Regions from separate parts of the Homo sapiens genome. Here region 1 is linked to region 2. The links are contacts of gene promoters, found by promoter capture Hi-C in blood cells and fetal thymus (Javierre and others, 2016). All regions are on one chromosome and are shown on one strand. The core of a region is centred on a gene start or on the middle of the fragment in contact, and the rest is flanking DNA. Distances in the headings are between cores, read along the strand shown. Region 1 overlaps MSC-AS1 (MSC antisense RNA 1). Region 2 holds the start of SLCO5A1 (solute carrier organic anion transporter family member 5A1).

Region 1 (5,696 bases), core at 565-3,064, 2.0 Mb before region 2:
GGAAACTTCAGAAAAGACTAAATATGGAGCTTCTTAACATATGTGAAACTTCTTAACATTCTCCTTCCTACACGTAGAGAACTGGTACTTAATTTACTGCTCTTTTAATTGGACCTCATGATATATAAAATATACATCAAGATTCAGTGGAAGACAAGGTGATGTCCGCAAAAATGACAGACTTGCGAAAATAATCTTCCCCATGAAAGCAATGAGAAAACTCACAAAATTATCAGAATCAACATTTTCAGAATGCTAGAAATTAGCCAAAGTTCTGCAGCAATCTGGGTATTTTTTTTTTGAAGAAAAACAGCTGAATATCAGTAAGAACAGTAAGCTTTGCTGTGTTTTAACTTGTCCTACTCCCATTCCCTTCTTCTCTTCCAGCTCCATAGTAGCCTTGAAAACTGACAGCTTACAATCACAGTGGAAGCCATAAATTAAGCAGACCTTTCAGGCATTGGAGGAACACTCTACCCCACAGCAGTAGGATATACATTTTTCTCAAGTATACACAGAACATTCCCTAGGATAGGCCCTATTCTAGGCCATAAAACAAATCTCAGTAAATTTAAAAGGACTGAAATAATACAAAATACTTATCCAGTAAGAGAAATACATTTGGGGAATTCACAAATTTATGGAAATTAAACAACACAATCATTTAAAAACCCATGGGTCAGTAAAGAAATCACAAAGAAAATTAGAAAATACCTTTATGGAAGAAAATGAAAACATGGCAAACAAAAAACCTAAGTAATACAAGTAATACATTTCTTATGGGGAAATCGCAATACCAACAATGAGATAGAAAACCTAAAAAGAAAACAAAGAGAAATTCTGGAGCTAAAAGGTATAATAACTAAAGTAAAAAAAAAAAATTCACTAGAGGGATTCAAAGGCAGATTTGAGCAGGCAGAAAAAAAAATCAGTGAAGATAGGACAATGGAAATCAACTTCATCTGAGGAACAAAAGAAAAAAAGTTTAAACAGGGCACAGTGGCTCATGTCTGTAATCCCAGCACTTCAAAACAGGAAGAGCCCTTGAGATCAGGAGTTTGAGATCAGCCTGAGCAGCTTAGTGAGACCCTACCTCTATAGATAATTTTAAAAATTAGCTGAACATGGTGGCACATGCCTGTAGTCCTAGCTACTAGGGAGGCTGAAGTGGGAGAACTGCTTGATCCCAGGAGTTTGAGGCTGTTGTAAGGTATAATCATGCCACAGCACTCCAGCCTAGGAGGCGGAGTGAAACTGTCTCTTAAAAAGAAAAAGAAAAAAGAATGCTTAAAGAAAAGTGAGCAGAGCCTAAGGGATCTGGGGGACAACATCAAACAGAATACATGTATTCTGGGATTTCTATAAGGAGAATGGAGAATGGGAAAGAGAGAATATTTATAGAAATAATGGCTGAAAAGTTCCCATATGGGATGAAATAAATGAATACAAACATCTAAAAAACTCAACAAACTCCAAGTAAGATGAACTAAAAGAGATCCACACCAAGACACATAATAATACAACTTTTGAGAGAAAGACGAGAGAATCCTGAAAGCAGCAAGACAGAAGGATCTCATCATTTACAAAGGATCCTCAATAAAACCACCTGCATATTTCCCATCAGAAACTTTAAAGGCCAGAAGGCAGTGGGGCAATATATTCAAAGTGCTGAGAGAAAAAAATTTTCAACCAATAATCCTATTTCAGCACACTATCCTTCAAAATTAAGTAAGAAATTAAGACATCCTTATATTAACAAAAACTGAGGGAGTATTTTAGTGCATTTTCTGCTGCTCATTACAGAATACCTGAAACTGGGTAATTTGTGAAGAAAAGGAATTTATTTCTTATAGTTATGAAGGCTGAGATGTCCAGAGTCAAGGGGCCACATCTGGTGAGAGCCTTCTTGCTAATGGGAACTCTGAAGAATCTTGAGGCCTGGAATCACATAGTGATGGGGCTGAACCTTGCTCAGGTCTCTCTTCCTCTTCTTACAAAGCCACCAGTTCCATGCCCATTAACCCATTATCCCATTCATCTATTAATCCATGAATAGATTAATCCATTCATGAAAGCTGTGCTTTCAAGATCCAATTACCTCTTAAAGGCCCTTTCAATACTGCCACATTGTGGATTAAGTTTGTGACATATACAATTTGGAGGAAACATTCAACAAATAATAAATGACATTTATAACTCAACAACAACAGGACAAAAAATTTAATTTAAAAATGAAAAATATCTAAATAGACTTTTCTGCAAAGAAGATAGATAAATATACAACAAGTACATTGAAAGATGCTGAACTTCATTAGCTGTTAGGGAAATGCAAATCAAAACCACTATAAGATATAACTTTCACACCCAGTACGATGATTATAATCAAAACAAAGAACAATAACAAGTATTGGTAAGGATGTGGAGAGACTACATTGCTGCTGAGAATGTAAAATGGTATAGCCACTTTGGAAAATAGTCTGATAGATTATCAAATAGTTAACCATAGAGTTACTATACGACCCAGCATTTCCACTATTAGGTATATACCCAAGACAGTTGAAAACATATGTTCACAATAAACTTGTACATGAATATTCATAGCAGCATTATTCATAATAGCCAAAGATTGGACATATCCCAGGTGCCCATAAATTGATAAATAAATAATTACAATTTGGTGTGTGTATATATATATATCATTATATGTATGTTATATATAATTATATATAATGAAATATTAATTCAGTCACATAAAATTGAAATACAAAAGCAAGCTAAAATATGAATGAACCTTAAAAAACATTATGCTTAGTAAAAGAAACAAGGCATTAAAAGTCTGTGGCTTATTATATAGAAAGTTTTTCAATGGAATATTATTATATATGTAGTATGTCCAGAACAGATGAATCTACAAAGACAGATAAACTAGTGGTTGCCAGGGGATCTGGAAGAGGGAGAAACGGGAAATGACTGCTAATGGTTATGGGGTTTTGTTTGGGGATGATACAAATGTTTAGGAATTACAGAGTGGTGATGGTTGCACAACCTTTTTGAATATACTTAGAAATCACTTAACTGCACATCTTTAAAGTATGAACTTTGTGGTATGAGAATTATATTTCAATTAAAAGAAAGGTTCAATGATTATCAAAGCAAAAATACTATAATTAAAATTAGTATTTTTCAACCAAGTAGTATAAACATTAGAATTAAATATAAAAAGTTAATGTGTTTTGTGTCACAAGTAAGTATAAAAGTTACTTGTAACATTTTCCTCCCTGGTCAAGCTTATTTTTCTATGACTTCTAAAACGAATGCTAAATATCAAGAACTAGAAGATTTACTATCACTTTAAATACTCTGGAGTTAAGCACAGAGTGCCTGGCATTGTAGCTTAGCCTGCTTATTAAATTCTCTAGTATTTCACATGCATTGTCCAAGAACATTGTATTAGTAAGGATACTCTAGAGAAACACAATGAATAAGGGGTGTGTGTGTGTGTGTGTGTGTGTCAGAGAGGAGAGGACAGAGAGAGACTTATTTTAAGGAATTGGCTCACACGATTGTGGAAGATGGCAAGTCTAAACTCTGGAGGGTAGCCTGGCAGGATGGAGACCAGAGAAGAGCTGCGTTCTAGTCTGAAAGCAGTCTGCTGGCAAAATGCCCTCTTCTTCCTAGAAGGTGAGTCATTTTCTATTACGGCCTTCATCTGATTGGATGAGACCCACTCATATTACGGCAGGCAATCTTCTTTACTCCAAGTCTAGTGATTTAAATTTATATCTCATACAAAAAAAAAAAAAAACTCCACAGAAAAATCTAGAATACTGTTTGTGCAACTATCTGGGTACAATGGCCTAGCCAAGGTGAGACATAAAATTAACCATAATGGACATGATATAGCAACAAGAGCACTAGACTCTCATTCTAGACATCTGAGTTCCTCTTCAATTATCTTTGTATTCTTCAGCAAGGAACTTCATCTCTCTTAACTCCAATATCTTTATCTGTAAAATATGGGGGATATTAATGTTTAAAATGAGAATATAAGGGTATGGGGGTGCAATCTGACATACTCTGCTTTTTCTCCCTGTTAAACTACATGTTAATGAGTTCCCTATAGCAAAAATGAAGAAATCATAAGTTTATTATTGATTTAAAATACCCTAAATTTGCTGTGTTCCAAATGCCTATGGAATATGTTGAAAGAAATCTGCTAATATCTCCAGAGAGCCTAAGTTTTGAAAAATAGTTTGCATGTATGTCTGTGTGTATGCATGCATTCATGTATTTTGTCGTTAAGTCCATTTTACATAGATAACGCACAACTGAAAGATCTGAGAAATATATAGATCACTCCATATTATATTCTGTCAGTGGCACCCCCAACATTTCTGCAATATAGTGATACTGCAACTTTGCAAATCCTTCCCTCTCCACCTACCCCAAAGAGTTAAAAGTATGGCTTCATTTTGCCTCCCTCCTGCATACCATGGGTCCCCAACTGTAGAATCTTCATCTAAATCTCCAAGAGTATTTCCCCTGAACTCCAAGTTCCTAAATTGCATCTCTACCTCATCAAAACTTAATGGTCCCATAAATAGTTCATTCTTGCAAGTTCTTGCTATTGAAAATATAAACAGGTTAATTTGTTAAGATTCAGCTATTTCTAGCTGAAAACCACTCCATGTGAATCACTGTGCTAGATAACTTCACATTTGTTAATGGGTATAAGTGCTCATCAGTCAATGTCATCAAAGCCCTTAACACTGTTTTGAAATACATTTCCTTACCCCTACTTAGACTCTTTTTATATTCTCCAGAATGGTTATTCCCCACATTTCCCATTTCTGTTGATTCTAGTAACTCATGTCTACCCACCTATTCTATGTAGACAACTTTAATTCATATTCCACTGAGAAAACAGAGACCATCAGGGACTAACTTCTTTAACTTCCCATTACAAATCTCTACTGATCTACAGAGACATCCTACAGTATTTCAGGCAAAAAGATATGTACATCCTCTTCTTCAAGGCTAACTCATCAGCCTCCATTTCCTGTGGGATTTGCTCCATCACTATTTCCATATTTTTAATATATTTTTCCCATATGTTAATATCTTTAATCCCCTCCCCATATTTTTAATATCTTTAATCTCTTTCTTTTCTCCAGTATCTTCCTCTCAAAATACAAGCATGCTCAAGCAGGTATCACTCTTAAAAACAAAACAAAAATAAAATAAAATACGTTTCCTATAAAGGTGCCATTCCAAAGGCTTCCACCTGGGGCTAAGATTGCGTAACAGGGATAAGACTTAACTTTCTACCTGAAACTTCCCTAAAACAGACAAAATGTATCAAACCATGGTTCTTAAAACATTCTACAGGAGGTAATGAAGGACAATGAACCCTGAGAGATGGGAAACAAACAAAGGAAGCCCTACAACTGTCCCAGCCGGTGCCGTGACAGAGTTTCCACGCTGTGGAGCAGGACAAGGGGACCCAGGAGAGCCAAACACACTCCCTGAGTTGAGAAGACAGACCTGAGAGGCTGGGCAGACCAAAGTAGCTAGAATTCACCCGGCAGGGTAGCAGAGGGAAGAGAGGTGCACAGAGAAAGAACCTGGGGATCTGCAGAGGGTGCCCTTGGAGTATTCAGCCAATCATCACGAGCATGTGAGGAAACTACCAGAGG
Region 2 (5,645 bases), core at 1,142-3,641:
CTTCTTTTGTGAGTAAAATTGGACCTTTTAAAATTTTGTCTTTTTTAAAGTCATATTTAACTGGGAAAGATAAAGCAAAAGAAATGCTTCTTGCTGAATGTTTTCTTCTTCTTATGTGAGTAAAATTGGACCTTTTAAAATTTTGCTGTAAATCATGATCTATTAGTGGCAATAAAAAAATCCATAGGTTCTTAGAGTTGCATCTACTTTACGGTAACTGAGCATGAATAAAGACAGAGTGTTTCAGGGACACGATTGCTTGATTTTCAAGTAGGGAAGTCCTGTGATGTCCCCTGATGTATCACATTGAATTCACTGATGTCTGGAGCTGAGACTGAAATGAGAGAATGGGACACAGAGCTTGGAAGGAGGTAATAGGAGGTAGGTTGATTCTGTGTGGATTTAGAATCAGCTCAGAAGAGTATTTGGGTTCAGGAAGTGCCACGTATCTTTGCTCACTTTATCAGCAGTAGAGGACTAAAATCTGGGCAGGGTGGCAGCGGGAGTCCTATTGCCTGTTTGTAGAAAAGTGACTGTGCCTGATGGCGATCTCAAGAGGAGGAGACAATGGCAGGGAATGAAGAAATGCCTCGGTTGATAGGTCAGTCTTGCAGCTGCCAGAAGATTGATGCTCTCTCAGCATGGACTTCAAATACACACTGATTGTTCTTTACTGTCAACTGGCCTTAATTGTTCTCTAAGGATCGCTGTAGATACGACGGTTGTTGGACTAAAGGGAGATAATCAAAAGAATCAAGGTGCATTGACGAGTCAGGATGTTATTCAATGGCAGGAGAGAGGGTAGAGAGTCAGGGTTAAGAGGTTAAGTAAGAACATAGTCTTTTGGAGCACATTGGTTCATATTGTCTACAGAGCAGCTGTGTGCCTATATAAAGTTACTTAACCTCTCTACACTTATCACATCTGTAAAATGGAGACAATGCTTTCATTGGGCAAGGCCAAGGGCCAGTGGAGGGGCTTCGACCTGGCAGCAATGGCCAGCATGGTCACTGGTACTTGTGAGCAACCTCCTTTCCTCCATTAGAGCACTATCCTGCTCTGTCAATGGTCACAAGTGCCCTCAGATACTCTTTTTTTTTTTTTTTTTCAGTTATCATCCTGTTTGTCTTCCCTGCAGCCTGTACACATCTGACCCTTCCCTTCTTACAGTCGTCTGCTCTTTTGGCTTTTCTGATGCGTCCCACACCTCTCTGACCCTTGCTTCCAGTCTCCTTCCTTTGGCTGTACGCTGTCCTCCTAGATTCTTCACAATTTGGATGATCTTCCCTATTCATTCCATCCTTTCTCATGCCACCTTTGGGCTGATGACTACTGATCAATATTCCTAGTCCAAACCTCCTGTGTGTCCAGTGGCTTATGGGACACGTACACTGGGATGTCCCCCAAACATTTCAAACTCAACACATGTAGATGAGAACAATCTTTCTCCTAAAGCATGTTTCTCCACCTGTGCTTTTATTGGCTGTCAGGCACGTAGTCACCCAACTTGGTGCTAGAAACTTGGGAGTCATCCTACCTCGGCTGGTTTTCTTCTCTTGCAGATTGCATCAGCTGCCCAGTTCCCTCCTCTCCATGCCCCCTGCCAATGCCTCATCACATTTTGCTTTCAGACTGCCTCCCAACTCACTTCTGTGCCCGCAGTGTGGCCTCACATCTGTCTACCTGTCACTGCCAGAGCCAGCTCTCTGGTGAGGAAGTCAGAACGTCATTGCCCCCACATTATTGACAGTACACAACTTAGGAAACCCGTAGTGCCCCTTTCTACTCAGCCACTCTTGCAGTCTGGTCCTCTGCCCCATCCCTGCAATCTTCTAGGAAGCTTATCTACCTATTGACTGGCAGCACCATGCCCCCGTGCCTCTGTTCTTCCTGCTGCGTGGAAATGAAGGCTAATGGATATTGGCTACTCCAGTAGCAGGCTGCATAGATGTACCACGTTGTTTTAAGCCATTTACATGAGTATTTCCCCCACAAGCCAGAGGTTTCCTCCGACCAAGTATCTTGTCTTGTTTATCTTTGGTCCCAGAATCTACTATGGTGAATGAGACATGGTGTGTGCCCAAGGCACGGAATAAACGATCAGAAATGATTTATTTATTCAGAGTGGGCTGTCAGCTTCAGCCGCTGACTTTTCTAGAGACCGGCTCCCTCGGGGCTTCAGCGCTCTTGGGCCCCCGCAGCCACGCAGGTGAAGGGCAGCGGGGTGGCTGGCTGTGGGAGGGCTGGGCTGGGTGGCTGCCCTCGCGCCTGCGCCCTCGGCTGCTCCTCTCCGGGCGCGTCTCTGTGCGCGTGTGTCTGTTTGGAGCGGAGGAGAGGCTTGGGTGACAGGCGAGGGGTGGGGGGAAGAGTTCAGCCTGAGTCACAGTCTCATTCACTGATTTCTCTTCGGCTGGACGGAGGCTGCCTCCTCACGCGGCTCCCAACTATTCCCGTAGCTCAGTGCCCCCCTCCCGCCGCTCTACTCAGCCAGGCAGACAGACTGACAGACTCGCTAGTGAGTAGCGGCGGCTTGAGCGCCCGGGCAGCGCGGCGGGCTGTCGCCGGCGGTCTTGTCTTCCCACGGGCTCTGTGTGTGTGTGTGTGTGTGTGTGTGTGTGTGTGTGTGTGTGTGTAGGATGTGCGTGTATGTGATGTGCGCGCAGGGGGTGTCCCTGGGATTCCACGCCTGCTCCAAGAGCTCCCTGCCGGGATCCGCGTGTCCATCCGAGTCTGCGATGCTGTGAGGGCGCTCGCCTAAGCAGGGGGTTCGGACGCCCCCCGCGAGCGGCGAGAGTTTGCTGGGATTCCCCGGCTCCTCACGCAGCGGCTGGTGGGGTTCCCCGGGAAGGCGCCTGGGTAAGGCAGCGGCGGGGAAGCCCGGGATTGTGAGTGGCTGGCAGGCCGGGAATCTGGGAGCGGGTTTGGCCCAGCACAGCCGAGGGAGATGCCGGAGCGGCCACCCTTGGCCGCCCAGCCTCTCTGCCTTTCTCCCTTGCCCTTCCTCCTTTCTTTTCTCAGCAGCATCACAAAGGCGCGCTGCAAAATGAAACCCAGTGTAGTGAAGCTCGGCTGTCTCCCACCTGGTGCATATTCCGCCCCCCGTCCTTGCCCCAGGCTGGAGGAGTGGAGTGGGGGTCCCCAAGATTAGGGGCGGGGTCTTACCACGGGGGCACACCTGTTTTCGATTCTTGCTGAATTCAAGCTGGGTGCGGGATCGCGAGAGAGGTTCCAGTACGCCGGTGTGTGTGTGTGTGTGTGTGTGTGTGTGTGTGTGTGTGTGTGGCCGCGCACGCGCACACGCTCCCCAGGCCCACGCTAGCGGGGTGCGCTCAGTCAATAGCACACCTCCCCGCCGGCCCGCGTGCGCCCAGCCGGCTCCGTGGGCTCCTCGCGCGCTCTCTGACAGCGTGCCGGGATCTCTTTGTTTGGTTGTGGCTTCCCTAGCTCTCGGCAAAGCAGACGGATTTTCGGTTTCGTTTGATACCGCGCTCTGGGACTTAGTGCGGGCCACAGCCTCGAATGCCCCTGGTATTTGTAATTGAAGAGTTCTTTCGGTCAGGGGGTTATTTTTGGTGTTGGGAATAAAGAGGCAAGCATGTTGACCTTTTTGCTGCTGCCTTCGGCTTTGAATGTGTGTCTCTGGTGGAGCAGACAGATTCAAATCTAGTCGCGCACACGTGCCAACGCACACCAGTGTGCACACACATTTCTACACACGTAGTTTACCCCCACCTTCTTTTTTCCTTTTAGAAAAATTGGGACAGGGAATACATTGTGTGTCTGTGAAAAAGTTTCCTTTGTTCTTTTGGGCATTTTCTATTTTGAGTAATGGAGTAGGAGTACGGAAAGGCTGCAGTTAGTTCACTCGATTAAAAGACACTGCCTCTGAGTCAGAGCTGCCAGGTTGATAATTATTAACATATAAAAGCAAACGCAATGTTTAAGGCAGAAGGGGCGGGACGGGGGCAGGTCCGCGGCAGACAATGAGGGAGAGTCTCCGCCGACCGCCTGCTGCTTATTGTTCCGGGACTGGAGACTGCAGCCGGCTGCTGCCTAGTCCTCCGGGGCTCCGCTCCTGACTAGCTCCTCCGTCCCTCTAGGGACGGTTCGGGGTCACCTAACCCTGGTCCCCGGGGCGCTGGGACGCTAGCCCCAAGCCGCAGCCGCTCTTCGCTGACCGCCCTCTTTCTGCTTTGCAGGTCGGCAGCTTCACTCCCGAGGGTGCCGCGAGCCCAGGCGGCGAACACCCGGTACCCCTGGCGCAGCGAGGTGGGATGCTGTACGGACAGCAGCGCTAAGTGCCCCCCCACCCCCGGCGCAGGGTGCACTCGCTCCTGGCCGCGGGCCCAGCGGCGGCGGCGGCGGCGGCGGCGGAGGGGATGAGCCCGGGACGCGCGAGGCGCCTGCCTCAAGCTACCGCCCGGAGAGGGACGCCGAGTAGGGCTCATCGCAGTACCGCGCGGACCCCTGCCCCCTGTGGCACGCGGCTGCGGAGCCTTGAAGCCGTGTCTGTGATCAGGATGCACTGGGCGCCTCGCAGCTGGTGAGGATGCCCTGCTGCGCGGCCCTGCGCCCCCAGCCCCAGTCCCAGGTGGGCAAGACTGACTGGGCCCGGCTTCGGCCCCTCGTGCCGGTGGATGAAACGTGCCGGAGTGCTTGGGTGCCATCAGCTATCAAATCTGAATTCTAAGCGCCATGGACGAAGGCACTGGACTGCAGCCCGGGGCGGGAGAGCAGCTGGAGGCGCCGGCCACTGCAGAAGCTGTCCAAGAGAGGTGCGAGCCGGAGACCCTCAGGTCTAAGAGTTTACCGGTCCTCAGCAGCGCCTCCTGCCGGCCAAGCCTCAGTCCCACTAGTGGAGACGCCAACCCGGCCTTTGGCTGTGTGGATTCTTCGGGCCACCAGGAGTTGAAGCAAGGCCCGAACCCGTTGGCCCCCAGTCCCTCTGCCCCGTCCACTTCGGCGGGGCTCGGGGACTGTAACCACAGGGTGGACCTCAGCAAAACCTTCTCGGTGTCCTCCGCCTTGGCCATGCTCCAGGAGAGAAGGTGCCTCTACGTGGTCCTCACGGATTCCCGTTGCTTCCTGGTGTGCATGTGCTTTCTGACCTTCATCCAGGCGTTAATGGTCTCTGGGTACCTGAGCAGCGTAATTACCACCATTGAAAGGCGCTACAGTCTGAAGAGTTCCGAGTCGGGGCTGCTGGTCAGCTGCTTTGACATCGGGAACCTGGTGGTGGTGGTGTTCGTCAGCTACTTCGGCGGCCGGGGTCGGCGGCCCCTGTGGCTGGCCGTGGGTGGACTCCTCATCGCCTTCGGGGCAGCCCTCTTCGCCTTACCTCACTTCATCTCGCCCCCCTACCAGATCCAAGAGTTGAACGCCTCGGCCCCCAACGACGGCCTGTGTCAGGGTGGCAACTCCACCGCCACTTTGGAGCCTCCGGCCTGTCCGAAGGACTCGGGAGGAAATAATCACTGGGTCTACGTGGCTTTATTCATTTGCGCGCAGATTCTCATTGGAATGGGCTCCACACCTATTTATACCCTGGGACCAACCTACTTAGATGACAATGTCAAGAAAGAAAACTCCTCCTTGTACCTAGGTAAGACTTTCCTGTTCTCTCAGATATGTTTCACTCACACTGA

The links. The method cuts DNA at HindIII sites, captures the fragments that hold promoters and counts their contacts. A CHiCAGO score of 5 or more calls a contact.
Region 1: a contact is called between a fragment that was not itself captured here and the fragment with the promoter of SLCO5A1 in region 2, in 1 of 17 cell types (total CD4 T cells). The highest score is 6.6, in total CD4 T cells.

Annotation. Positions count from the first base shown.
Region 1 is chr8:71,852,477-71,858,172 of GRCh38, reverse strand. All of the region lies in intron 2 of MSC-AS1 (MSC antisense RNA 1), which reads right to left. Among named protein-coding and RNA genes, the nearest start is that of MSC, 11 kb to the right of the region's middle. The HindIII fragment of the contact is 2,950 bases long and covers 340-3,289 here.
Region 2 is chr8:69,831,724-69,837,368 of GRCh38, reverse strand. It overlaps SLCO5A1 (solute carrier organic anion transporter family member 5A1), which reads left to right and starts at 2,391. Exons shown (of 10, transcript NM_030958.3): 1 at 2,391-2,515; 2 at 4,200-5,602. The coding sequence starts at 4,696. It overlaps SLCO5A1-AS1 (SLCO5A1 antisense RNA 1), which reads right to left and starts at 3,257. Exons shown (of 4, transcript NR_186568.1): 1 at 3,176-3,257. RefSeq lists silencers at 2,126-2,235, 4,326-4,415 and enhancers at 2,556-2,635, 4,066-4,135. The HindIII fragment of the contact is 8,160 bases long and covers 1,843-5,645 here.